Regions from separate parts of the Homo sapiens genome. Here region 2 is linked to region 1. Evidence: promoter capture Hi-C in human tissues and cell types (Jung and others, 2019). All regions are on one chromosome and are shown on one strand. The core of a region is centred on a gene start or on the middle of the fragment in contact, and the rest is flanking DNA. Distances in the headings are between cores, read along the strand shown. Region 1 holds the start of CCDC54 (coiled-coil domain containing 54). Region 2 has its middle 17 kb from the start of LINC01990.

Region 1 (6,950 bases), core at 4,307-6,806:
CCCAGCTACTGGGGAGGCTGAGGCAGAAGGATGGCTTGAGCCCAGGAATTTGAGTCCAGGCAGGGCAACATGCCGAGACTCGTCTCTAAAAAAAAAAAAAAACAAACCCAAGTCTCTCCTCTCAAGGAACTCGGAATCTAGAGGGGAGATAGGCTCACCAACAATAACAATACAATATGGGAATCATTGCTAGATGGAGACCCAGATCTGTTGGAAGCATTGGGAAGACTATAAGGAGAATCAGAAAAGGCAAGACAAGTGTAGTAGATGAATGAATGACTCCAAAGGATGGGTAGAAATTTGCCCTGGCGATAAACAGATGAAAGATTTTCCAGAAAGACCATACAATTTTAGTTATAGTGAAAAAGTAAAATATCATTGCCAAATATTATTTAAAAGTTATCGTTCCATCATTTCCTCAAAGGTGTTCACCTCATTTTTTGGCTTGTGGTCTCACAGGATTTTAAACTATCATTATGAATATTTATTAGAACCACGTAGTGGATGCGGCCCTTTCCCTTACCCCACGTGTCACTCTCACCAGATGGCCTTATCAATGTCCCTGGGCTCCATCGCTTCCTTCAGCCTGAAACCTTGCCTACATTATAAACACTGTGACTTTCCCCTGTTTCTCTGTCCTGGTCCAGTGCAACAGCTCTGATTTCAAGCCCACTCTCTTCTATTTCTCATGGCTAAAAAGAAAGAAAAGTAGAAGACAGCTTTCCCTTTGGGCCCTTCATAACTACTTAGCATGTGTAACAGGAGATTGAATTCGCACATTCTTATCCCCTTGAGTCAGCCCACCCTGATCAAATTCGAAAGACTTTCCTGGTTCCTGTTTCCTCAATCTTTTATCCCACCGTGCACATGACAGGTGATAGTCACGTGGGAGGGTCCAGATTCTTGTGAACCTGGCCCCTAAATTTTGTGGGGGAAGTTAAAGACTCTTAATAAGTTTTTGTGGTCACGACCCCTAAGGTAACATGAGTAATAGTAGATCACTACAGGTGTAACACAAACGTTATACATAATGCTCAATTGCTAGCAGGATAGCTGTAACTATCCCACTCTCTCCTACACACACAAAAAAACATGTTTAAAAAAAACAGAGTGACTTTTTTGTTGTTGTTGTTTTTGTTTGTTTGTTTGTTTTGAGACGGAGTCTCGCTCTGTCGCCCAGGCTGGAGTGCAGTGGCGCGATCTCGGCTCACCGCAACCTCCGACCCCCGGGTTCTCGCCATTCTCCTGCCTCAGCCTCCCAAGTAGCTGGGACTACAGGCGCCCGTCTCCATGCCCAGCTAATTTTTTGTATTTTTAGTAGAGACGGGGTTTCACCGTGTTAGCCAGGATGGTCTCGATCTCCTAACGTTGTGATCCGCCCGCCTCAGCTTCCCAAAGTGCTGGGATTACAGGCGTAAGCCACCGTGCCCGGCCCAGAGTGACTTTTATATATGTAATTTATATAGATAATCTAAACTCTGCCATAATTAATATATAGTTAGTGTACTCAAAAACACAGCATTTAAAATATTGAATAATATTATGTATTATTAGACCCATCTAACCAGTGGTTATTCTACTCCAGTCTGCCTGAAACCAAAGCTGGTTGGGAAACCCTGTGCTAAGAGATAAAGGGCTGATGTGTCAGCCTTGTTTGCTGCATTTCAGTTGCCTCTAATCGAAATGCTTTCCCTGCATGGTATATTGGGCAGCAAGGACCACACACTTTATGTCTTGGTCATATTGAAAGAGGGAGAAAGGCAGAGTGAGAGATTGAGAGAGCAGGCAGCGCTAAAGCTGAAAACGGTTAACCATCTCCTTTCATCTGGAAGAAGAGAAGTGAGAGACAGGTGGTGGGAAATGAGGAGGAAAGGACTTGTAACTATTCAGCATCTTAATTCTCAAAACCAGTCACTGAACTAGGTGCTGTTATTATCCCATTTTACAGGCTTGTGGGAGGCTAGAAACTTGTGTAAGAGCACTGAGTTAGTCATGGGACAGCCTTGAACCTTTCTGGCTCCAAATACCATTCCTGTGAAAGCCAACCTCCTGGAGAACAGGTAGACTCAGGAAGTCTCCCACTAGGCTTCAGACCACTGTGCTATTTTATTTCTAAATGCCACCATACCCTTGGCAGGAACCCGAAGAGCGGAAGTCAGCTTATTTCCCGTTATTCATTCACTTTCTGACTGCTCTCATAACTTCGCCCAAATCAATAGGCTTACCTCCTCCCGGTGCAACTTTTCACCACCTGGCAAACTCCAGATAAGCCAAGGCTCCCTTTATTGACATTACGAAGGAAGTAGTTAGAAACCCAGACAGGTTTATGTTTGTATCAGCCTATTAGATTTATTTGTTTTATAAAAATAGTAAGCATACACTCATATTTTAAGTTGAAAACTTTAATTTTTTTAATTCCAATTATTGTATTACTATGTCTACCACAGTAAGGAAAGTAAGCCTCCAAATATTCACTTTTACCTACAAATTAGAGCTTGTTCAACTTCTAAAGTCTTCACAAATTTCTGTATCAAATGCTTTTGGTAAATAAAATAACCGATGAAAGCTTAAATTTTCTCATAATGCTAAACAGACAAAATTTTAATAAAATAAGTCTTCTATAAATATACAGTAGGATTTTAAAAAGAAAATGTCCATCTTTTTCTGAGTTGTACTAAATATATATTTTAATCATGATTGTGAGGCAGTAGAGGTAAAACACATGGACTCTGGAGCCAGAATGTAAGCATTTGAAATCTGACTCTGCCCATTTTTAAGCTCTATTACCTTAGGAAAGTTACTTGACTTCTCTGAACATAGTTAAGTAAGCTAATACTTAGAGCAGTGTCTGGTATGCACCCAACAAGTCTTAGCTGTTATTAACCTGGAGGGAGTAATTATGACAAGCAGTCCCTCTCATTTAACTGGGAATTCTTGGAAAGTGAGAATACGTAATACACAAATTGCCTCCAAATGTAATGAAATTTTAATAATACTAAATCTAACAATTAATGAATATGACATAGTACATTTCAGAGACGTTTCATTAAACATTTATTGCTTCAATCTTGCAGCTTTCTTTCAGTATTCTGAGCCACTGTTTTTTTTTTCTTCTGTTCTTAAGTATTTTCATTGGCCCTTAAAAACTGTATGGGCCCTAAGTACTGTGTCTGCAGAACTCGACGGATAAAATGGCCTTAGCCAGAGTAAACGGGACGGCTGTGAACTCTAACCTTTCCAAGCCCCAAATGCCATTCCTGTGATAGTCTGCCTCTTGGAGAATATTTTCCTCAGCAAGTGTTTGGAAAGGTTTCTAGACATTTTCGAAAGGTTACTAAACAGCATTTGAAAGATAGGAGAGTAAGGCAAAATCCCAGATATTATTGATGAGCCAAAATTTTAAAATTACTGCTGGAAAAGCTCACTGTTTGTACCAAATCCTGGGCCAACACTGACCCTCCAATTGGGCACAGATAGAAGAAACAGTGATTTGGTAGAAGGTTGGAATTGGCATGGATCCAAGAGGGAATGTCCTTTTGAGTAGAATGGGACTGCTCCTTGAGAGACATGTGAGTAACACGTCATTTTGATTCCAGAGTGTTCAGTCTAATGTGTTTAGAGAATAAAATTAAGTTTTTACCTCAATATATAAAATGGGCCAAATATTATTTAATATTTCAAAGGGTTTGAATTTCAAATACTGTTATGTAGAAAAACCTATAAGAAGGAACATGAGAAATGGCTGCTGTTATTTTTAAATTCTAAGGCAGTGGCTCTCAAAGTGTGGAATGCTTTGTGTCATGAGACCACTCTGTAAGTGTGACAATGAGGGCAACAATATTTCAAAATAATCCCAGGACACCGTTTGTCTCTTCCACTGTGCTTACATTTGCCTGTTGAAAATTACATTGCAAAAGCAATGGTGGGTAAAACTGTTGATACCTTAGCATGAACTACAGCAGGGGTACCACACTGACTAACAGTGACTCAATCAGAAAAGGAAAAAAATACAAGAAAAACCAGTTTCACTCAAGAATGTCCTCAATGAAGCAGTAAGAATTTTTAATCTTATTAGATCTCAACCCTTCAGTACATCTTTTTTATATTATGTATGATATAATGGGAAGTAAACATAAGTGCTTCTGCAGCTTAACAAAGTATACTGGTTTTCATGAGGAAACGTACATAAGTATTTGAATTACAAATGTGTGCTTTTTTCATGGAACACTATTTTTTCTTGAAAAAAACTGACAACAAACTACAGTGTTCATAGTTGGGCATTTGGCAAGCATTTTTGCAAAAAATGGATGGAGGGAATCTGTCACTTCAAGGAAAACAATAAACCAGCTTGATAAATTTCAAGATTTTCAAGCTAAAATTAGAATTTTGAAAAATCTGCATTTGCTACCATGAGCTTGGCCTCTTCTCAGTACTCAAAGACTTTTCTGGTGAGATTGGTGGAGATATTAATGAAAATGATATTTTGATATTATATAATACAATGAGTTGACATTTGGAAGACCTACATAATTCAGTGAACCATTGTTTGCCAAATGACCAATACATGATATTATGCATCTATTCAAAATAAAAAATAGACCAGCGGCTATTAATATAACAGAGTATGAAACTTCTTTGATTTGGCCTAAAATGACACATTGCAGCTAACTTCTTAAAAAAAATCATTTGTCAAATTTTCATAAAGTAGCAAAGAATGATATCCTCAATTATCTGAAAAAGCTATGAAAATACTCTCCCCTTTCCATTTACGTAACTCCATGAGGCTATTTTTTCTTCATATACTTCAAAATAATATATCACAACAGATATAATGCAGAAGCAGATATGAGAATCTAGTTATCTTCTATTAATTCAGGTATTTAAAACACTTGCAGATATGTAAAACAATGCCACTCTTCTCACTTTTTTTTTAGAAAACCAAATTATTTTTTATGAAAATATATCACTTATGTTAACATGTAATGGGTTTTTAAATTTAAATTAATAACTAATTATCTAAGACTTTCTTAGTTTTAATGTCTACTATAAAATGTAGGTAGATATAACCCAAATAAACAAAATCTGTGTGATCCTCAATAATTTTTCATTTTTATTTTTATTTATTTATTTATTTATTTATTCATTTTGAGACAGAGTCTTGTACTGTCGCCCAGGCTGGAGTGCAGTGGTACCATCATGGCATACTACAGTCTCCACCCCCTGTGCTCAAGTGATCCTCCCACCTCAGCCTCCCAAGTAGCTGAGGCTACAGGCATGCACCACCATGGCTGGCTAATTTTTTTATTTTTTTGTAGCAACAGGTGTTTTTCTGTGTTCCTCAGGCTGCTCAACAATTTCTATGATTCAAAAAGAGCCCTATGACCAAAACTTTTGAGAACTGCTGTAGTTAAATATGTTTGTTCTAAGCCAGCAGTCATTGTGACATCAGCAGCAGGTCAATGATTACCATATGAAAGATTCCATGCAGTTGACTATTATTTCACAGAGCTCTCTGGTTGGGCTGCTCTATAAGAAGCTAATCACCTAACAGTGTCTATTGCTGTGGCTGATGATTTCCAGAGTGTTCTAAGATGTTATCAGGAAAGGCATCCAACAAATAGTAAGAGAAGGACCATTTCATTTGTACATTATTTCTTCCTGTGATTCTGTTTTCCAACACCTTGCCTCTTGTTTCACCATGAAAGATGTACACACTTCACACCAAAAGGGTAAAAGCTGCTGCTAGGCAGATGTGGACTTCAAATCTCTCCAAGGTCAGACAGTCTCTTAAAAATGTTTACCACAAATGTAAGATTCGGCACCAAGATTCAACTGGATATCCCACTGTGACATCTGATGATTGTAATCAAGATGATGATAGTTATGACGGAAAAATGAATCTTCCAGTAGTGCTCCAAGATGTTAAAACTGCTCAAGTTGAACTTTTCAGCCAAATGACTGACATTGTCCATATGATACCAAAAGTCCAGGAAAAGACTGACTTGTATCAAAAACAGATGGAGGTCCTGGAAACCAGAATGAATGTTAATGAAGACAAACAATGCACAACGACTAAAGATATCCTCTCTATGAAAGAAGACATCAAGGCATTAAAGAAGAAGGTGACAGAACTGGAAATTCAGAATTCCTGCTCCACGATACATTGTCTAGAGATTCTGGAGGGAGAAAGGGGTAAAGAAATCACAGAACTGCTTTACAAACTCATACAACCAGCAACTCTGAAGAACACTTTGGCCTCTACAGACATGGAAATCTCTTCAGCAGAACCAGAGAAAGTGCCCAGTTATCCAAAGTCCACTGACCATCTTGAGAAAAAAACAATTTCTCCCCAAATGAAAACTCTGAAGAAACGTAACCATCAAAATGCATCAAGGAGCTTTGAAAAAGCAAAGCCAAATATTTACATTTACCCAGACTTCAGTACATGGATCAAGCTAACTTTTGTTCATGGAGGAAAATGGACATTTTTCCTCAGTGCTACCAAGTTAGAAGAATTCATCCAGTGGCTTCTTTCTAGGCCAACCATTCTTCCTGAGGAACCCCAGGTCATAACCCAGAGATACTGTCCATTCACTGGGCCCATTTTGAGCTTGACCACAATCTGTCTCTCCATCTTCAACAATATTTACGGCTTTATTTGTTCCTTAAAAGAAGAAGTAACTCGACTATAGAGTTATGTTCTGCTTTGCTTGGCACAAAATAAATGTAACCTGGAGGCTCCAAGTATTCACACATTGGTGTGGTGGCTGTGAATTCTTCGGTAGTTTGCTCACTCTGGGCCCACTATCTGCAGAGTTTCTCTATGTCTACAGTAAGTTAAGGCACATGATCTAATTGAACTGTTGTAATTCGTTTTCTCTCAATGTTCTTGTTTTCTCAAAGGCAATTCATGAGGACTCATCCTGGGTCCATTTTCATAGATAATTGGA
Region 2 (6,691 bases), core at 946-3,445, 35 kb after region 1:
GAATACACAAAACATGCAGAAAAACAACAAAATGTCAGTAGTAAGTCCTTACCTATCAATAATGACTTTAAATGTAATGAGAGTTCAGAGACAGAATAGACAGGACGCAATAACTATTGCCAGCTTTTCCCCACATTCTTGCTCAATGCCATTTCCAAGTCCTGGAATGCTCTCCCTCTTCCAATCCATAATACCATCTCTGCTATTTGAAATACTTCCTATTGTTCAAGACCCATTCCTAAAGGCACCTCCACCATGAAAAATACCCAGCTCAGAGTAATTCCTCCATTCTCTGCTTTCTTTTCAGCATGGATTTATATAATCTCCTACTATACTTACCACAAACTGCTCAATTTAATGTAAATATATTTGTGAATTTGTCTTTTCTCCCCTACCAGAAATAAGTTCTTATTATTAAGGCAGATCTAGTGGCATTACTTTTAATGGTGAAAACTGCAATTACTTTTGAACTAACCTAATAATAGGAACATACTCTAGGCCAAAAGATAGCTGCAAGCATTTAATACCTGCAATGAAAACATGTCTGCAACCATTTTTAGGCCAATATCTGTTAGTGCAGCCTCTCCAAGCCAAATTCCTATCAGCTTATCATGCCAGCCAGCCAAATGCAGGAGTCACTTGACACACTGGACAACTGAAGAGAACTTTCTACATCCTAAAAAGAACAATATTTCACTAGAAACTTCCTTCAGACTGGGTTAAATCCAACATTTTGATGCACCTATGTCTATTAACCAAGATGATTTTTATCAATAGGATGCTGCCACCCACATCTGCTTATCCTGGTTATTCATTACAGAAACAAAAAATCACTTTGGATAGTGTTTAACTGTAAACTAAGCACGTTTAGATGTTCATCAACAATTAAAACTCAGCAGCATTGTTTCTGTATTTTTTTAATTAATAGCAGAAGATGATAACACTGAAGTATTTTTTATCAAGGGAAAAATACACACTGCTAGAATCCCATTTAGTCTGTTATTTCTCTAGAAATTGTATGTAATAGTGGGGTGATATTGAAATCCACAAGAAGTTATGTTTATTTAGTGGACCCTAACCAAGAAAGTTTATATACTGAAACAATGGCCCTCAGTGCATTTGCTTCACCAGAAGCCCCCATAGCACAGACTCCCAGTACTTTTCAGCATGATTTTAGTGTAGCAGAAACTGAGAGAGAGAGAATAGTAGACATTGTAGAATTCCTTGTTAGGCAAAAACCTTGGAAGTCATTCTGACCACTTTTTTTTTCTTTCATTATTAGTCCTACGTTCATTCACAACCCAGGGAAGGAAAGGCCAAAAATAGCCTCCAAACCATTGTGAAGCAGCTGTCTTTGGTGCGTGAAGGCAAGCAGACATTTGGAAGTCCAAGTTTAGATAGTAAACAGAGGCTATATTGAAACAGTAATCATGCTAATTAATCATCATTTTGTTAGCAAATGTGCTGCACTTTGTATTTTCAAAGCATTGTATCATCATTAATTAATCAGCTGTAATCACTATTGCAGTGGCAAATCAAATTATGTACAAGACTTGAAAAGAAATTGTTTCATATGGAGTGCACTTAAAAAGTGCAAGTCTTTTTCTTTCTGTTTTTGTTTTTTATTTATTTGTTTGTTTCTCCATCGAACAGGCTGTGCCATATTCTCTTTCACTTTTCTGCCCTAGCTTATGCTGTTCCTTCTACCTAGATCACAGATAACTCCTGTTCCTTTGTTAGATATCATCATAAGCAACACTTTTTTCTAGAGACAGTTCTCCAGGCCTGCTAAGCTATTTTAGAGACTCCTATAGTCCTTTTTCGTAGAAACTTTTACCCTCTGTTAAATTGCCTGTCTAGTTGTTTGTTACTCATGCTAGGCTGCAGGTTCTGTGAGGAAGAGGCCACAGATGACTTGTTCATCATTGCATCCCTGGCGTGGTGCCTGACACTTGGTAGTCACCCAAAACGTGTGTTTTTTAAATGGAAAAAAAAAAGAATCCTCCATGAGAGAGAGCTAATAAAAGGCAGTTATTGTTAACATGAGCTCTCAGTACAAATCAATCTACTCAGCACTCCAGATGCTCTATCTCATTTAATGCTCACTGTGTTCCTTTGAGGTAGGTACCATATAGGTAATTGAAGTGACAGAGAGTAAATCATTTGCCCATGATCACACTGAAAGTAAATAACGAAATTGAAGTTGCATCATAGATTTCTCTGATTTCAACCCTACATGTCTATGAAAGTGATGAACAAGAAAATAGCAGGCCCTAAATCCAGAAACTAATCTGACACAACCAGGTCTCAGTGTTATCACAAACTGGACCAATGCTAGTGGGTAGGCCATATTGTTGCTCTGTTGAACATTAGCAATCTCACAAAACAGCAGCATGAGACAAAGCCACTCTGAGACCATGATAAAGTGAAACAAAATATTAATAAGTCCACTTCATTATTTTATCTAAGCACACATCAAAATAAGGCCACTGTAGAAACCCCACAAAATACCAAACATCTCTTTCTCCTAGCTAATATGAGTCCCTGTTGCTTCTTTACTAATTATAGCTTTACCCTTGCTCTAATCTGCGATATGGTTTGGATCTTTGTTCTCACCCAAATTTCATGTTGAATTGTAATCCCTCGCCATGCTAGAGGTGGGGCCTAGTGGGAGGTGTGTAGATCATAGGGGTGGAGGCTTCATGGCTAGGTGCTGTTTTCCTGATAGCGAGTTCTCGTGAGATCTGGTCATTTAAAATTGTGTGAAACCTCCCAGACACAACTCTCTCTCACTTGCTCCTGCTTTCACCATGTGACATGCCTGCCCCCCTGTTGCCTTCCGCCATAATTACAAGCTTACTAAGGCCTCCCTAGAAGCCCAGCGGATGCCAGCACCATGCTTCTGGTAAAGCCTGCAGAACCGTGAGCCAATTAAACCTCTTTTCTTTATAAATTACCAAGTCTCAGATACTTCTCTTTTTTTGAGACAGAGTCTTGCTCTGTTGCCCAGGCTAGAGTGCAGTGGCACAACATGGGCTCACTGCAGCCTCTGCCTCCAGGGCTCAAGTGATTCTCCTGCCTCAGCCTCTCGAGTAGCTGGGACTACAGGCATGCGCCACCACACCGGGCTAATTTTTTTTGTATTTTTAGTAGAGACTGGGTTTCACCATATTGGCCAGGATGGTCTCAAACTCCTGACCTCAAGTGATCCGCCCACCTCGGCCTCCCAAAGTGCTGGGATTACAGGTGTGAGACACCACGCCCAGCCTTCAGATATTTCTTTACAGTAATGCAAGAATGGTCTAATACACCTGCCTTCTTTATAAATAAGGTTTATTGAGATACCCAATCATAGAATTTCCTTCACTTCCTGACAGCAGTTATGCAGAATAAATTGTTTCCCTAGACTCTTTTCAAAATCACCCATTCAAAGCCCCAGTTCTTTAATACACCTTTCTTAACATCCTCTTACTGAAACAGTTCCCTTGGCATGATTTTTGTCTTGCTGCAGTGAGAAATAAACTCAACTTTTTCAGCTACAGGTGGGTTTCTGGCTAGAGGGTATTGACATTGGGTTAATACAAAAGCACCTATTAGGCTGGAGAAAGAAAACGTGAGAACTTTTAATTATAAATTTTTGTTTTGAAAAATCAGAAAAATAATCTTAACCAATATTTAATACAGTATATACACATGGTTCCCTTTCTTCATCCTTCCCTCTGTGAGATGGCCACATGACAAATTAGGTACACAACATAACTAGAGGGTCACAGAAGGACAAATACTGTACAATTCCACTTACATGCAATATCTAGCAGACAAAATCATAGAAACAGAAAGTTGAATGGTGGTTTCCTGTGACTGAGGGGAGGGAAAAATAAGCAGTTGTTTGATGGGTATAGAGTTTCAGTTTTACAAGATCAAAATGTCCTACAGAACTGTTATACAACAAATGAATATATAGTTCATACCACTGAACTGTGCACTTTGAATGATTAAGAGAATATATTTTATATTATGTGTTTTCTGTCATGATTTAAAAAAAAAAAACTAGAGGGAAGAGTGAGTGTTCTACTGGAGGATTTGACATGGCAGCCATAGTCTTTAGTTCACTTCCTGGACACTGCAACATACTGCAGGTGACATTGTCCCCAGCAACAAAGTTTGTATCTTATGTAATTAGTCACTGATAATATACCTTAGTAACTAAAACTTGAACCATGTTATGAGGGTACTGGTACTATTTATTAAACCATGGTAACTGAAATTCATTTGACAGACTTTGTCTCTCATTTATGTTTTTCTCGAAGAATATAATGGTATATGCCATGTTAAAAAAATAGATGAGAAGGACAAAATCCCTCACTTCAACAAGTTTATAGTTTAATGGGTGTCAATAAAATACATAAATTCTGTAATCTGATAAACATAATGATCAAAAATAATGTACAAGTTTATAGGTGAGTGAAATTACCCTTAGTCAAAGGATCAAAAAGATAATGAAGCTAATGGCATGGAAGACAAACATTTTCAAAGTTATTCCTGTGGTTTCATGGCTTTCTATTGACAGGATCACATTTTTACTTGGTTTTTCCTATTTCCCAGATGTTAGTTGTTTTGCTGTTTTAAATAGTGTTATGATGAATAACTTTGTAATTGCAATAACTTTGAAGTGGAATACCTAGACAAATGGGCATGGAGATTTTTAAAGCTGTTGGTGCATACTACTGGTCTTAAAATGTTTAATGCCATTAGCTTTTATGATCTTTGTCTTCATTCCTCAATCAAAACTAATTTTACTCACCTATGAGTTTTCATAGCATCTTTGATCCTTATGTCCATTGAGTTATATTATTCTATGCATAAAAGTGTGGAAACAATACTTATAAGGTATTAGGGACCTATTTTTCTGGGGAGCCAAAATTGGGAAAATAGCATGCATTGCTTACTGAATGCCAACAATCAGAGCTGTCTCAGAGAACAAGAGTCTCTCCAAAAAATATTTTCTGAGCTTTCAGGAATTATAATCCATGTGGAAAAGTTAACCATATTGGTGAAATATTTAATAGTTTAGGAACATTTTGTACTTTGATAGCTTCAGAACAAAACCTCTTTGTGACTATTCAAACAAAGAAAATTTTTTTTAAAATGTAGTCAACTTGTGCTTGTCTTCCTTCTACCACCAAACTGGGTTCAGTGCCACTAACAGTAAGGGCTCTAGAGAAGAGTCAGGGGATAAATGAGGTAGGAGTGAATTTTGTTCATGTTTGGTATTATGTCTACATAAACATTTCATAATGCCTTTGAAACCATACACAAATAGTGAGTGATTTAAAAATTAGAATTTTGCTTATCTCAGGTTTTACATACCAACATGAAGCTAGAATTACTCTGTACTTCTTTCATGCTTATTCTGCTCTATTTCAGGAGAATGTAAAAATTATATTTCATTAATATTTTTATCCAAAAGGTTTCCAAAGCATTAGGTACAAAAATCAGATGAATATATGGACATTGCCTCAATTTTTCTGCATAGCAGGCTCACATCTGTGATTAAAAAGTAAAGAACTGGAGACTTTCCGTTTCTAGTCTGGCCTGTGAAGAACTTAGAAGTTGTCACACTTCCTAACAAGAGGCAAAAAGCTGAACAACCTGAAAAATCAACAGCACTTAGCGCTGTCAGAGAAGTGAGGTCACAGGGCAAACCACTGCCCCAAACTTGAAGAGAGCAACAAGCAAATACAGAGAATTGGAATTTACCACAGCAGAAACCCCAGGGGCAGGTTAGAAAACTTCAGCCTAAACTAGTAGCAGAGCGGGAAAACTTGAACTTCTAGAGGCTGAGTGAGAACCAGCCTGAGACCTTACAATTTTAGGAGGACCCAGGCATAGGGGATCCCTCATGCTTTGTGAATTTTACCTCTGGGAACTCTACCATGTCCATGTCCTGATAGTGAATAATGGAGAAAAATCTCCCTATGCTTCTGGCGAGGGAATGAAAAAAGAATCTATCTGTTCTTTTTAACAAGTCCTGTCCTCAGGACCAGAAGCTAACCTGCTAGAGTTTTATCAGAGCCCAACCTGCGCAGGGGAAGGGAAATATCCAATGCCAGCCCTCTGTAGCCATCCTGTCCAGCCTAATAGGGGAAATAGCATTGAGAAGCACTGGCGAAGTACAGGCCTACAGAAACACTGAGACCTAATCATAGGATACAGAATGCTTTTCTTCCTTCATACCTTAAACTACACCACTAAAGGCCTAGTTATTAGAGCTTCTTTTACATATATACCATGTATGATTTCAACAAAAAATTATAAGGCATACAATACAGAATATAAAAATTAAAAGGCAAACAACACAGTTTAGAGAGACAGAGCAAGCATTAGAACCAGAGTCAGCTATGACAGGTATGTTGCAATTATCCAACCAGGAATGCAAAACAACTATGATTAATATGCTAAGGGCTCTACTGGAAGAAGTACACAACATGCAAGAACAGATAGTGCAGAGAGATGGAAATTCTAAGAAAGAATCAAAAGAAAGCCTAGAGGTCAAAAACACTTACAAATGAAGAATGCCTTTGATGGACTCATTAGTAGATTGGACACAACTGAGGAAAGAACCTCTGAGCTTAAAGATATGAATAGACATTTCCAAAACTTAAAAGTGAAGAGAAAAATAAAATTGAAA

What was found. Contacts are between HindIII fragments. The study calls those that stand out against the background at their distance.
Region 2: a contact is called between a fragment that was not itself captured here and the fragment with the promoter of CCDC54 in region 1, in 1 of the 25 tissues and cell types used here (bladder).

The regions. Positions count from the first base shown.
Region 1 is chr3:107,371,883-107,378,832 of GRCh38, forward strand. CCDC54 (coiled-coil domain containing 54) reads left to right here and starts at 5,557. Exons shown (of 1, transcript NM_032600.3): 1 at 5,557-6,753. The coding sequence starts at 5,706. The coding sequence ends at 6,692. The HindIII fragment of the contact is 13,990 bases long and covers 1-6,950 here.
Region 2 is chr3:107,410,649-107,417,339 of GRCh38, forward strand. No RefSeq gene overlaps it. Among named protein-coding and RNA genes, the nearest start is that of LINC01990, 17 kb to the right of the region's middle. The HindIII fragment of the contact is 7,217 bases long and covers 1-5,804 here.